Linked DNA regions of Homo sapiens: all the other regions are linked to region 3. Evidence: promoter capture Hi-C in 16 types of primary human blood cells and fetal thymus (Javierre and others, 2016). All regions are on one chromosome and are shown on one strand. Each heading gives the region's core, a stretch centred on a gene start or on the middle of the fragment in contact. The rest is flanking DNA. Distances are from core to core; before and after follow the strand shown. Region 1 holds the start of FBXL13 (F-box and leucine rich repeat protein 13). Region 2 holds the start of DNAJC2 (DnaJ heat shock protein family (Hsp40) member C2). Region 3 holds the start of SDHAF3 (succinate dehydrogenase complex assembly factor 3). Region 4 holds the start of ORC5 (origin recognition complex subunit 5). Region 5 holds the start of NAPEPLD (N-acyl phosphatidylethanolamine phospholipase D).

Region 1 (2,700 bases), core at 138-2,637, 6.0 Mb before region 3:
AAGGAATTAGAATTCTTCCTGCTATCCCATTAGCAAATTGCCCGTGATGTGTGAGGCAATTTAGTTTGTGCTTATTCAACAATGAAGCTGTTTAGCTCTCTTCTACAATTGTGGACAGGAGTTTCTTGGATGGCAGATATGATATTTTAAATTATTTCCCTAACAGCTTCCATGATGTGAAACATGCCTTTGGAGGGTTTTAATGTACCGATCAACTTTTGGACAGAAACCGAATCATGCATTTGTCCGCTGGGAGGGTGTGTCTCGCGCAGACAACTGTTCCCATTTCCAAAACACACACCAGGCTGCGAGGTCTTGGACCACTGTGACTCCCAGGTACCTCCCGTCTGAGGCCGGGCCGAGCGCCCGCACAACTGACCCTCTGACGTCCCTTCTTCCAGGGCACCTGCAAGCAGAGATTGACCTATGGCTCTGGGCCCCTCAACAGCCCTTCCACAATCGGGAGAATCCCTTTAGTTACACAAAGGCCCGGAGCAAGCTTTAAAATGAGAGGCCATCAACAGGTTTTTAAGAAATCTAATCCTCCGCTGTGACGCGGAGCTCAGGCAGGAAAGCCAGGGCAAGTTTTCATACCAGTATAGTCAGCAAAGGGGCGGCGGGGGCGGCGCAGCACCCTGCACTCACACAAGTACTGCCTCTCCCTCTAGCTCGGCTCCTCATTTTACCCCGAGCACACGCAAGCCACCACCCCGGCCTGGGGAGCCCCCCTGCCCAGTCCCCGCCCACCTGCCGGAAACCCCGGGGTCCCACCTGCGGACTTCGAAGAGCGTATCCCGAGCTCGCGGTCGCCCCGCCGCCGACCCCGGGTCAGCCTGTAAATGCAGTAGCAGGCGCCCGCGCCGAGCAGCAGGCCCGCCGCCACCCAGCCCGCGCCCCGGGGGCCACCCATGCTGCCGCCGCGGCAGAGCCGCAGCGCCGGGCCAGGGCAGGAGGCTCGCGGGGGCCAGCGCGGAGGTCTCCAGCGCACGCGGGCCTAGCCGCCACAGCAAACGCCACCTGACCTGGATGTGGAGAAAGGAAATGGGGTCTGAGCTCCGCCTCCCGGAAACGGCCTAGCTCAAAGCCTATAACCGCCCACTCCAGCCCGGCGCGTCCCGGCGGCTTCTCCCAGGCGAGGCGGGGCGGTGCGGGGCGCTGCACACCGGGAGGGGGGGGTCGGACGGTGCGCCCCACGCGGAGACGCCGGGGCCCGCAACCCAGAGCCGAGCTTCCCGTCTCTTCCCCCGGGGCGTGAAGCAACCATTCCTCCCTCCCGCCCCTGGCAGCGGAGCGCGGGGCGGTGCCACGCCCAGCCCCGCCCCCTGGTTGCCGGGACAACGCCCGCACGCGCCCGGCCCCTAGTCCCAGCGCGGGGAGGGTACTATCGCAGCTTCTCCGTCAGGCCTTGGGCCATGGCCTCGCTACGCAATGCCAACCCGAGGCTGAAGAACTACTTCAAGGAGAACTACATTCCTCAGGTCTGCGAGGTACTGGACACGCGTGGCAGCGGACACAGACCGTCGGTGGGGAGTTAGAAGGGGGAGGAGTCAGGAAAGACTTCCCGGAGGAGGGACTAGGTTTCGGGATTGGGGAGGAGTGGAGGGAAGGCGGGGCAGAATGCGAGAAAGTGAAGTCAAATTCGGACTTGTAGGCGATCAGGGCTGAAGACGCTGATTAGAGAGAAAACAGAGGGTGATGGTGGCTGCACGTGGGGAATGGGTGACATCTCCCAGGGGGAATGAGCACAAGGCCCAGATCGGAAACCCCAAACTCAGATTTTAAGGTTTGGACAAGAAGTACCTGAGGAGTGGAGGAGTGAGAAAGAAGTGCCAGAGAGCCTGAGGAGGAAAATCAGCAGACTGGCATTATGAAGAATGTTGTCAGAAGTAGGGAGTAGGCACTAGTCACCTAAGATAAGGAGCTGGATTCTGCCCAAGGTGAGCCTGAGGTTTCCATGGAGCCGTGAGGGCAGAAAATAGATGGAGGTTAGCGGAGGGAAGAGTGGAAGCTGAGACCTTTGGTCAGTGTAGTCAGCCCTTTGTGAAGGTAAGGACCCTCTCAACCAGGATTGCCTTTAGACAACAGGAAGGACTGCCCTCCTACTGCCGTTATAAGAGTAGGGAAGGAAGACAGGAAGGGGATAGACATTAGGTTTTGTAGGTTTGGGGGTAGGAAGCTGAGAACATTTGCCTTTGTTGACCTCTTTTTTTCTCTACAAATAGTTGGTGAGATATTTACCAAGAATGTGCGTGTTTGAGTGGGGATGGGGATGTTGGTGCAGTAGGAGGTTCGAGCAAAGATACGTTATGTGGAGAATGAGGGAGAGAGATGTCTAGGGAAAGAAAGAGGAGGTCCTACCTGAGGGTAGTAACGCTCCTAGGCGGTTGGGAGGGCAATTTGGTAGAGACCCCCCACCCGTCTCTTTTTTGGATGGTAATTGAGAAATATTTATTAAGATGTTAAATACATGTACCCTTTAACCAAGCATTTCTACTTCTAGGGATCTACTTTAGAGAAATACTTGCACATGTGTTCAGGAGGATGTACAAGGATATTCATTATAACTTTGTTTCATAGTAAAAATAGTAAATGACCTAGAGTGACTAAGCGAATGAGGCATTATGTAGAATAAAGTATATCTGTACCTACTAAGAAGAAATGTCCTCCAAGACATATTATTATTATCATCATTATTATTGA
Region 2 (2,700 bases), core at 117-2,616, 6.2 Mb before region 3:
AAAACAAAAACCCATGTTAGAGTTAATGGTAAAATTGAATGGGAGGAGGTGTGAGGAAAAAAATATATTAATATGAAGAAAGTGGAGTCAGGTTACTTTGCACCTTGGAGCATGTTTTAACAGTGGTTGCATTAGTAGGGATCAGGAAGAGGTTTTGGGGCAGAAGATTAGTTCAATTTTTTTTTTTTTAAAGACGGGGTCTCACTGTTACCCAGGCTGGAGCGCAATGGTGTGATCTCAGCTCACTGCAACCTCCACCTCCCGGCCTCAACGATCTTCCCACCTCAGCCTCCCTTAGTTCAATTTTTGAAAAGTCAGTTTTGAAGTGACAATTTTATCATGCAGCAGATATACAGACCAATTAAATGTATTTAATTGGCCTGGCACAGTGACTCACGCCTCTAATCCCAGAGTTTTGGGAGACTGAGGCAGGAGGATCCCTTGAGGCCAGGAGTTCAAGACCACCTTGGGCAACATAGTGAGACCCTGTCTCTACAAAAAAAAATATACATATATATATATATAATATATTTAAAAACTTTAATTGTGAAAATATAATGAAATTAGTAAGTTATTTTCTAATTTACTAATTTCTGGTGGTCCTTGCTAAAGAGTGGCATATCAAGTTTATTTTATTGAACCTGTTTCAGATACTGCTGTTGGGGGTGAGCCTTTACCCACTGTTTGTTTTTGCTAGTTTTTGCTTTTGACTGCAGTCTTAGAAGGAAGCATATAGTAGGAATACAATTGATTTTATTATACATTAAAAAATTAAGTCCCAGAGTCCTATAATTGGGAATATCTTGAATAAAAACTTCATTAGAACAAGGTAAAAATATTGCTGGCCTTGGAATACAATCTAACACACTAGAGAGAGGTTTCTTCTCCAAGCGAGTATTAAAAGATATAATGCAGGTAAATTAGTAATAGCACGACAAATATTAGCTGCTATTATCATCATCAAGTTAAACACAAATGTATCACAAATACACGTACGTAATTCTCCGCAAATGTATATACTAGTCGTCGATACTGGTTCATACAGGTATTTTCATTTTTTACTTAAAAGTATAGCGCTCCTGGGAAAATCACTGATTAGGTTCAGATTAATACATAAAGCAGTAAGAACTTAAAGATAATATAAAAAGAACTGCTTTTAAAGGTTATGTTCTATGTATTGCACTGGGACGTGGAATATAATCCTTTTTACAGGAAAACTGATGCGCCTAGGAACCATTCTCTCGTGCGACTTGGTCTCCAGCCGGATCTCAGTCAGTATAGAACTAGGTTACCGCACACGTTGGCGGGGGTGGGAGGGTGTGAGACTGGCCTCCACACCACGAAAGATCCATCCCGGAAGTGCTTACTGGTCGTCTCCATGCGCCGGTTCCTGGGCGTCTTAGAGCCAAGGCGCGAGGCTCGGAGTGAGAGGTAGAGCTGGAGGGGACCCTAAGCGCCCTCCGCCCGGGACGTGAGCCGCTGCGCCCACCGGGCTAGACCCGGCGCCATCATGCTGCTTCTGCCAAGCGCCGCGGACGGCCGGGGCACCGCCATCACCCACGCTCTGACCTCTGGTAAGTGCCCACCCAACCTCGGTTCCTTCTCACCTCAGCTGCCCCTGCCTCAGTCCTCCGCCTCGGCAACCCTGGGCTCTCTCTACCCTTGACCCTGGCGACTAGCCCCGGGGCCGTATGGGGCCGTGACGAGTGCCTTTTTGCTCCGTGTTTTAAAGTAATCCTACCCTAGATTAGAAGGAAGGAGGGTGAGGGGTGCCTTCCTTTTGCTCCTACCGTTGCTTCCTCCTCTCGCCGCTGCTGACTCATGGATTGGGCTGAGCATTTCGGGACGGAACCCCCCAGCACCCCAGAAAGGTTCTCATAAGCATCTCCTTGCCTACGGTGGAAAGACTACGCGCAGCGAGCACCCCACGTGCCTGGGGTCGTACAAAGCTTTGCTACTGGCGCTCTCTTAAACAACTTTCTCCCTCTCTACGTTTGCTCCGGCCTTGTTTTTTAAATGTCACAACTCAGACACCGCTCCTCATACTCGGTGTTCAAAGACTGTGCTGCTGAAAAGATCCGCGTAGACTTTGAAAGGCAGTTATTACAAGTGAAACTTGTCCTGCTGCTGTAGGTTTTAGTTTTATGGCCCAGGACAGTCATGAGTATTGTAAACTTAAGAGTCTTCAGGTCCAGTGATCTACAGTAATTCCCATAGCCAGTCACATAGGCGCTTGTTGAATGTGATTTTGAACATAACCCATGGCACGTGTTGCATTTATGTGTCTCCGTGTGCCTCTTACAACTAGAGCAAAAGGCTTAAAAGGCAGTGTTCTTAAAAGCCACACACCCATACTACACAGGTAGTACCTTTTTGACAGTGTTTTAATCCTCTCCTGTGTAAGGTGGAGGAAATCTTAAAATAAGTTGTTCAGGGATTTTCCTTTTTTGAATTGCTAGTATACACATGTACAGTGATTTACCCCCACTTCCCAGGAATAGATGATACCTTTACTACAAGTTTGTAATTTCAGAGAGTTTCTGTGGTCTCATTCAAGCTTCCTAGGAACTGAATGAGATAAATAGGTATTGTTCCCATTTTACAGGTGAAGACATCCTGATTCATTTCAGGTCACATAGCCACTGTCAGACCTAGTCTAAAACCCAGAGTGTCTGGTTTCAGATTGAGAGCTTGTTCCAC
Region 3 (2,824 bases), core at 38-2,537:
TCTCTCTCTCCTACAACCTATTATCAATTTTTTCTGAGTTGCTACTCTTTCCTACTTTTTCCCAAAGAGGCTTCCATGTGCTTACATTTTAAGACTTCTTAAAATAACCTTATTTCCTCCCAACAGAGAGCTACTCTCCTTCCTGTACGGCCACAAAATGACCTACCATAAAAGATGTAAAATACTTTAATACAGTATCTTATAGCTTCATAACAATTAGCAATACACAAGTGCTTGTAAATACATTTACATACGTAAATTTTGAGATGCATAAACACTTATTATTTTATAGATGAGAAAATAAGACTAGAAAAATTATGTGATCTGACACTTAAAATGTCAGAGACTGAATCTGAATCCAGTTCTTCAGGCTCCAAAACCAAATTACCTTATTAAAATAAAGTGCTCTGTGTCTGAAAAGCTTCAACTTCCCTGCTTCAGGCAAGCGAATTACATCAAATACACCATGATTTTCAAGAAAGTTCTAAATTTCCCGATTGTTCTAAATGTCGCTCTTAAAAGCTTCAATAATTATACAAAAAAGAATTCTGGAAGTCAGTGCAAAGTTTGTGTTCACCCTAACCATTCTTTTGATTTTTTTTTACAAAGCCGACTTCAGTCATCTCCCCTTCAACTATTTAGGCCGAAGAACCGCTTACCTCTATTTTCATATCAGCTCCAACTCATGCTTTCAAATATCTGAGCTGTCATTCCAATCTCTAATTCCATTCATTTATTTATATTTGCAAATGAAAACTAGGGGCAATCCTGCAGGGCCCCGAGCCCCACGAAATACTCTGAATATCTTTTTTCCTTTACTCAAAAAAAAAAAAAAAAAGTCAAACGACTTATTGCTAATGCATGTGTCTGTTTAATATTTAGCGCAATGGTGCAGGGCGAAGTAACAATGACTTGAGACCGGAGGAAACAACTTTCGCCTGACTTAACTGCCACCAGCATTTTTCTCCTTCACAGTTTGTAATCTCCAACCTTTTGTAATCTTTTTCATGTTACCTGATTTCTGTATCAGCCAAGTGAGAAAATTATTTAAACCCAACCAAAAGCGCTGAGATTAAATAATAAATTACGGAAATAAGCCTTTAAATTTGAAAACTAATAAGAGAACCATTAATTTATTAATGGGCGCTTACTAGGTGCAAAGGCACTTAAAAGGACAAAAAGCTCCTGAGGTTTTTGAGCACTTAACGACGACTTGCTCATTTTTGTGACCTCCTACCCTCACCCTTTGAGCACCTGGCATCTGCAGGAGCTCAAAAGTTGAACTGAATTGGGGACGCTGAAGTAACAGGATCTGCTCTAGTGAGAAACCCGTGGGAGAAACTTTGGAAAGTGTTACCTGAACAGCATTACGCTATTTCAAACAGAACAGGTTGCTGCTCTGTTTAACCCCGCATGGGGGACTGGAACTAGAAACCTGGACACCGAGGAACCCCAAAGGTCTTGGGCAAAGAGAAGGGAGCGTCACTTGCCTCCCATTCTTGCAAGAAACGCTGTGCCTCGTCAGAACCAACGGTCTTATGTCTCCTAAATTCGTCTTTCACGTACTGGTCGCCCAGGGATTTGAGGTCCGGGGGCAGAACACGGTGCAGCTGCAAGACGCGCTTGTACAATGCCCGGACTCGAGAAACGTGCCGCCCCGGCATAGCGCCCCACGCCGACCGCCGACTGCGCCTGCGCAGAGGGACGGCGCGTTCCCGCACTTCTGCGAACTTGCGTATTAGTGAACCGGAAGGCAGACGAAAGAGGGCGCGCGACCTCTATCCGGTTTGGTCCCTTGCACAATCAGGTCCTCCCGGAAACCCAAGCTCCGCTGCGGGCGGAAAACGGGTCGGTCCTTCTCTAGGAGGGGCGTGGCCCTCGTGGAGTCGCGCCTGCGCCTCGTCGTGGCTTCTTCTGGCCTGCGTCCTGACGACACAGGCCTTGAAAGAGAGAGGTCTGTGGTGGGCCGTTGTCATTTCTCAGTCCCACTCCACTGTCTTTTTCATTCAACTTCGTTTCTGTCCTCCTACCAAAGGCCTGAGAAAAGCTTCGTTAAGATCGGGCTCCTCCGGGATTCCTTCCATGGTTCCCAACCCATTTGAGGCATTTAGAGTATTACTGCACCCTGCTTTAGGGATCAGAGTGAGATTAATCTCGCCATCCACTAGCTCACCAACCCACGCTCTTTGCACAGCGCTGTTCTCCCAATTTATACTCTGGGCATGGGCTCTTCCTTGCAAACAACCCAAGTGAGCCCAGAGCTGGCGGACTCCTTAGCCAAAGTCAAGTTGGCTGCTGAAGGATCCTTGGGAAGAGTTTTAAACGTATTGTTTCCAGGACCACGACCCTGGAGATTCTGGTTAAATAGTCTAGGATAATAAGAACGAGGAATCTAGAAATTTACAAAGCTCTATCTTTTGCGAAGGTAATACTGAGAGTAGAACTGGTTTCCAAAGCTGGCAGCTCCTTGTGTTGTCCTTTCCTGTCACACGTTTGGTTCTTCAGCAAATCCTGATGGCGTCACCAACAAAAATGCAGAAATCAACCATTTCGCCCCATGTACTCTACCACAATCTCTCTCCACTGGATATTGTGTTAGCTTCCATATCTGTGTTCAGCTTCTGGTCATGACCAACTTTGGTCATGCTCCAACATAATTTAAATTAAATTTGGCCTAAAATTTCCTCCCTACTCTGAGTTGCTATGTAGGGAACTGCAACCTAACTTAGTATGTAAATTAACTGCAACTGAGAGTATATTCTTGTGACAAGTAGCTGAGCTTCAGCCAATCACAGGCTGCCAACTGATCAGACTATGTGCATAT
Region 4 (2,704 bases), core at 184-2,683, 7.1 Mb before region 3:
TTTTCTTCAGCCTCAGCTTCCAGGTTCTCTCCTCTGAGAAACCATCCTAAATCATCCAGATGGTAAGGCATGTTCTCTCAGATCAACAATTATCTTTATTATGTAACTGCCAGGCGTTAACTGTGTATGCTGGAAATTGAACTGTGAAGACAGTGTTTCCTGTCCTCATAAAGTATATAGAGAGGGAGACTAACATTTTAGACAGTTTAGTCAGTTTTATTGAATGCTATAAAGATGTCGTGTTATGATTATAATATATGTATACCTTATATGCACAGTATGTTACGGACGTATAACCATCTTAGGAGAGTATCAGAGGCCAGCTTCCCTTGGAGACATTGAAATTTAATGGGTGGTCCCATTATAACCTTTAGAATTCTCTATTAAAAAGTACCTGGGCAAATGCTTTTGAATTGTTGCTGTGAAAATACTATTTTGACTAGCTAATACGTTATATACCACAACTCTCAAAAGATCCTTTTGACCATCACAAATCTAAGACTGATCTACAATCTATGGGCAGATTGAAGTCCACAATTTAAATTTATGTATAACAGGTAGTATGTACAGGATCTTCTACTCCTAGCAATAACCTAGCCAGTATTATCCCTATTTTATAGATAAGGAAGTTGAGGCTCAACTATTCCAAAGTCCCCCTATTCAGCAGTTGAGTCAGTCAGTGGTCCCAACCCAGGGGTTTCAGGACGCCAAGCTCTCTTTCCACCATGCACTTGCCTACTTCTGTATCTTATTTCCAGAATCTTCTAGTGTTTAGTCGCTAGTAGGTGCCTCACAAATAAATACACGTGAAAGCCTAATGCTAAAAGTAGCATTATTTTTACTATCAACCTCACCAACACACACTACGACTTCATCCCATTAGGACTGAGAGGCTTTCCACATCTGGTTTAAAGCTTGCACAAAAAATAGTAATTCCAAGCTGTGCATTAAACCCCATTACACCCTGTTTTGTACTCAATGCCACTAATTTCCCACAACGTCGTCAGGGAAAAAAACGACAACAAAAACATCTTTTGACAATATTAGTCTTCTAAGTCCGCCTTCCACGTCCCTCTAAGGGCCCCAGCTCCGGGTCCGTCTTCTTAGGCACTCAAGGTTTCTAAACTTGGGGCTTCCAGCCGGTAAAACTAAAGGCACGGGGTTCAGGGGTCATTGGAGGCCCACGGGACCCCCTTAACCCCTTCCACCCCTTCCCTATTCGCCCATCTCCATGTCGTCTCCTTAGCCTTTGAGTGGAAAAAGCGTCAGCCCGAAATCCCCACCAAGCCCAAGAATGGGCAAAACCTCGGCGCGCACAGGACCAGCGAGAAGAGGATGGTTCCGGCCCTGAGACTAGAGCGGCGGCGACGCTCGGCGTACGCGCTGCCGTCACGCCGCAGCCCGGCAGCGCAGGCTCCTCCCACGACGCTGCGGGTCCGGTTTCCGGCGGGAGCGTGGGCCGCCAGACTCGGGAGAGGCTCCGTCTTGTGCAAGGGTCCTGTGGGCTGGCTGCACTGGCCTCTGCGGTGGTGCCTGCCAGAATGCCCCACTTGGAAAACGTGGTGCTTTGTCGCGAGTCTCAAGTGTCCATCTTGCAGTCCTTGTTTGGAGAGGTATTGTAGTTAAACTGTCTTCCAGATCCTGGAGGCAGACGTTTCGGTAGTCTTGCGACCTGTTCCAATATTTGTTTTTTCGTGTTTGGATTGAGGGCCAAAAGGCCGTTTTTACGTTAAATAGGGGTGTTGTGGTTCTGTACTGCAGCTTCACCCACAGTCTCTTCCGAATATTGAAGAGGAGACAGTCTGAGAGCGACCGGCCTGCACTATAGGACGTTGCCTAAGACGTATTTGAAACACGCCACACTTTTCAGAAGTTTGCCCACATTAGCTCCTAGAAGTTGCTTGTTATCTTACCCCAACCCAATGACATTTATGTAACAGATGTGTTTGCAGGGTGTTATTTATTCAAATGTAAGTTCACACGTTTCTGTGCGGTAGTTGGAGTGAGTCAAGTGTAGAGAGGTGGTTGCTTTCAAGGCCACTAAGGGCCAAAGCAGTGCTTCAGGTTTAAAAATTTACTGGCTTTTCCAGAATTGTAACAGTCCAGAAGAGGTCTAGGGTAAACTTTTCTCCTTAACTGATAGTTCACAGGATGCCCTAGAGAGGAGTTTGTCTTGTCTGGATGAACATAGATACGTAGGGAGTCCTTTCAATAGGCAGAGGGTAGCGTTCACCAATTCAAAATTTAACCTATTTTTGACTATTTTCTGGTGGTCTTTGATGTGCTTTTTGATTCAGACTCAATCAGAATTGGAATTAATCAAACTTGGATCTTACCTGCGAAGAGAGTGAATGAGAATTCAGGGTCATACTCATACCCCCATCTTCTGGTTTGCTTTTTTAAGTACAGTCATGCGTTGCTGCCACTTAGTGAGGGGGATACGTCCTGAGAAATGCATCGTTAGGCAATTTAATCCCTGTGAATATCAGAAAGTGTATTTACACAAACCTAGATGGTGTAGCCTGCTATACACCTAGGCTGTATGGTGTAGCCTGTTCCTCCTAGGCTATAAACCTCTACAGCGGTGCTACTATACTGAATACTGTAGGCAGTTGTAACACAGTGATAAGTCTGCATCTAAAAGTGTCTAAACATAGAAAAGGTACAGTGAAAATAGGGTATTATAATCTTATGAGATCACTGT
Region 5 (2,700 bases), core at 95-2,594, 6.0 Mb before region 3:
AGCAGCCACTCTAAGCTAGCCTGAGGAGATAAAGTCCACACTTGACATACAGTTCTTTACATTCCTCCAATGTCACACAGGCACATTCACTTTCAAAATGCAGAATAGTTTGGTCTGCATTTTTCTGCCAGTCTTATCTGCATTTAGAACCTGTGGTGGTGGTTTCTTTTTTGCCAAGATAACCCCAGGGACAAGCTTTTTTTTTTTTTTTTGACCCTGGCACACCCCAGGACTTTTATAATCTTTTTGCCCAACAACCCATTGTTGAATTTTACTTCGACATGCCTGTACTTTACTTCTTGAAACAACTAATTTCATTCTGCAGTTTAAAAAGCAAATCCAGTAAGAAACTCAGAATCACAATCGTATGCTCTTTCATAGTTATCCTAGCGTTAAAAAAGATGCAAATTTAGATGAGAACCGTGTGTACCAGGGGGCTGTGACATCATTTTAAAAGTAAACGATCACACAGTGAACAATGCCGTGCTCCCATTAATATTCAATACGTACTGTACAACATTTCAAATTAGAGTTTAGTTTCTTCGCTACCAGGATCCTAGCGCCATAGGCTGTAAGTATTCAAATGCTTCTCGACTGTGATTGAGTTGGCTATGACAGTCCGTCAATGGGTCTGCAGGATCCCATTTAGTTTTAGCAACTGTGGCTGGTGTCCAGGAATGCGTTCATGCGATCTGAAAGTAAGCCTCTGGCTTAGGACAGCGGGGGGAACCAATTTGATCTTAGGAGGGTCCCTGCAGAGTGTTTGAGTCGCGAGGCGGGCCGGGGCAGGCCGCGTGCTCCCAGGCGCTTCCTTTACCAAGATGGCTTCGGCGCCCCGGCCCACAGGGGCGGCCATCTTGGTAAGGGCTGGAGAGGCAGCCTGAAGGAGGCCACCGCTGGCCCTGCTGTCAGATTCGAAGGTCATAATAAGGGAGTGACCCGGCGACGACTCGCCCCAACGATGGCGAGGCGGCGAGAGCTGAAGCGCTGCCTGCAGCTGCTGGCGTCCTCGGCGGAGCCAGCGCGGCGGGCTCGGGTTAGGAAGAACCCGAGCGCCTGCCGCGGTCGCCCCTCCCGCTACGCGGCGGCGCTTTGCGCGGGGACTCTGTGGCCGGAAGCCGCGGAACTGAGGCGGCGCGCGCTCCCGGCCACCCCAAGCGCGAGGTGAGTCCGCACCCCCGCGCTCGCACCCCGCCGCTCTGGCCGCGCGCCCGCGGCCCGGGATCCCGAGTGTCCGGAGCTCCGTGGTTTCTGTTGGACCTCGCGGGAGGCGGTTTTCTCCCGCCTGCTGTGCTCTGTGACCTCTCTGCTGCCTCCTCCACGGTCTCTGGGCGGAGCAATCCACACTGCTGAGCCTGGGGTGGTTTGGAATTCTTCGGCGAAGTGGAGCGGGCTGAGAGTGGGTTTCCCGTCCCCGAGCCCTCCCTCATCTCGGAGATGCCGCACTTGTGAGCGACAGGGCTTCATTTGAATTTTCGCACCTCGCGAGTTGCGGAGCCTGCATCTCTGAAGCTGCCTCGGTGAAGAGCCACAGCATTATTTTTTTTCTCTTTGGGAGAGTAGCTGTCTGGGATTTGAGATCCTATCTTCCCTGCAAATTACCAGGTTGCATCTTCACTGATAGGAATACATGTGGGTTTATCTTCTTTTGGTTGTATGTAAATGAATGGGTCGACAACTTCCTCCGAGCAACTTATTGTTGCTTCATCTATAGTGTTTATCTTCTAAAAATCCATTCCAACAGGTTTCTCCCCTTTTATTTTGGAATAAGTGTACTTATTTAACTATGGAATGGAAATGAAGAGCAAAAAAAAAAATGGGGCTAGCTGGGGAGGGGTGGTGGAAGGCTGTGCTTTCTTGAGTTTTCTGTTCTGTGGTTGTTTGCTTCTTATAAATTGGGTATTATTGTGGGCTTTTCAGAACACGTATTCAGATAGGTTTTTGTTGTTGTTGTTTTGTTTGTTTGTTTTTTCCTTTTTTTTTTTTTTCAAGCTAGAGCTCGATATGGTAGATACTCTTCCATGGGTTCCGGGATCACATGCATTCATTATACGTCAGTTAAACCTGGAAAATATTAAGGGAGTGAGTAAAGTTTAACAGCCTTTTAAAAAGTCATTTAGTTCTTGTCTTTGCCTTTACTGTACGTTGTTATATATACATGTTATAATATGACTGACTCACCTGGTTGGCTTTGGCTTAGCATGAAATGTTTGCTACTTGATAATTCTGATTAATTTGTCCAGGAAGTCATTCCTGAGATGCAGTTCTTCAAATTGAGAAATAATTCCCATGTTTGTTAAAAAATGGAAATCTCTAACATTTCCATTTCTATTTTCAGTTACATTGGTTATGAATTAGCCGCAGACATGGACATCGTTTAGAAAGAAGTTATGTAATCTTTAAAAAGAAGATTACCTATATCCCACAATAGTGTGATTTTTGTTGCAAGAAAATACTGGGTCTGTTAAAGAAGAAATTTAGGGTAAAAGTACTTATTTAAAATAATAATTTAAGGAGAGATTGAGGGGTTAAATTTGTTTCAAGTCAACTGAAAATATAGTCAGGATTTTCAGAGATTTTGTTTTGTTAACATTCTGCAGGCTTTCCTGCTACAAGAATTATGGTAAGTCTCCAAGAGATAAAAATACTTAGTGTATTTCTCATACCCTTATTTTCACTCAGAATTCCAAATTATATTGT

The links. Contacts are between HindIII fragments. The CHiCAGO score rates a contact against its expected background, and 5 or more counts as called.
Region 1: a contact is called between the fragment with the promoter of FBXL13 here and a fragment that was not itself captured in region 3, in 1 of 17 cell types (non-activated CD4 T cells). The highest score is 6.7, in non-activated CD4 T cells.
Region 2: the fragment with the promoter of DNAJC2 here is called in contact with a fragment that was not itself captured in region 3 in 1 of 17 cell types (naive CD8 T cells); the score reaches 7.0 in naive CD8 T cells.
Region 4: a contact is called between the fragment with the promoter of ORC5 here and a fragment that was not itself captured in region 3, in 1 of 17 cell types (naive CD8 T cells). The highest score is 8.0, in naive CD8 T cells.
Region 5: the fragment with the promoter of NAPEPLD here is called in contact with a fragment that was not itself captured in region 3 in 4 of 17 cell types (non-activated CD4 T cells, activated CD4 T cells, naive CD8 T cells and 1 more); the score reaches 12.2 in non-activated CD4 T cells.

What each region holds. Positions count from the first base shown.
Region 1 is chr7:103,073,483-103,076,182 of GRCh38, reverse strand. It overlaps FBXL13 (F-box and leucine rich repeat protein 13), which reads left to right and starts at 1,387. Exons shown (of 21, transcript NM_001394494.2): 1 at 1,387-1,487. The coding sequence starts at 1,413. It overlaps ARMC10 (armadillo repeat containing 10), which reads right to left and starts at 1,043. Exons shown (of 7, transcript NM_031905.5): 1 at 772-1,043; 2 at 302-406. The coding sequence starts at 910. RefSeq lists an enhancer at 297-346 and a silencer at 617-1,456. The HindIII fragment of the contact is 4,996 bases long and covers 502-2,700 here.
Region 2 is chr7:103,343,433-103,346,132 of GRCh38, reverse strand. It overlaps DNAJC2 (DnaJ heat shock protein family (Hsp40) member C2), which reads left to right and starts at 1,366. Exons shown (of 17, transcript NM_014377.3): 1 at 1,366-1,574. The coding sequence starts at 1,511. It also overlaps a transcript of PMPCB not described here. RefSeq lists an enhancer at 1,184-1,423. The HindIII fragment of the contact is 5,590 bases long and covers 1-1,951 here.
Region 3 is chr7:97,116,564-97,119,387 of GRCh38, reverse strand. SDHAF3 (succinate dehydrogenase complex assembly factor 3) reads right to left here and starts at 1,690. Exons shown (of 2, transcript NM_020186.3): 1 at 1,491-1,690. The coding sequence starts at 1,664. RefSeq lists enhancers at 1,513-1,602, 1,953-2,032. The HindIII fragment of the contact is 1,525 bases long and covers 525-2,049 here.
Region 4 is chr7:104,206,742-104,209,445 of GRCh38, reverse strand. ORC5 (origin recognition complex subunit 5) reads left to right here and starts at 1,433. Exons shown (of 14, transcript NM_002553.4): 1 at 1,433-1,613. The coding sequence starts at 1,542. RefSeq lists enhancers at 1,255-1,414, 1,465-1,544, 1,585-1,774. The HindIII fragment of the contact is 7,936 bases long and covers 917-2,704 here.
Region 5 is chr7:103,147,743-103,150,442 of GRCh38, reverse strand. NAPEPLD (N-acyl phosphatidylethanolamine phospholipase D) reads left to right here and starts at 1,344. Exons shown (of 5, transcript NM_001122838.3): 1 at 1,344-1,632. It overlaps LOC105375434, which reads right to left. Exons shown (of 3, transcript XM_047421168.1): 2 at 1-1,425. The coding sequence ends at 623. The HindIII fragment of the contact is 3,849 bases long and covers 198-2,700 here.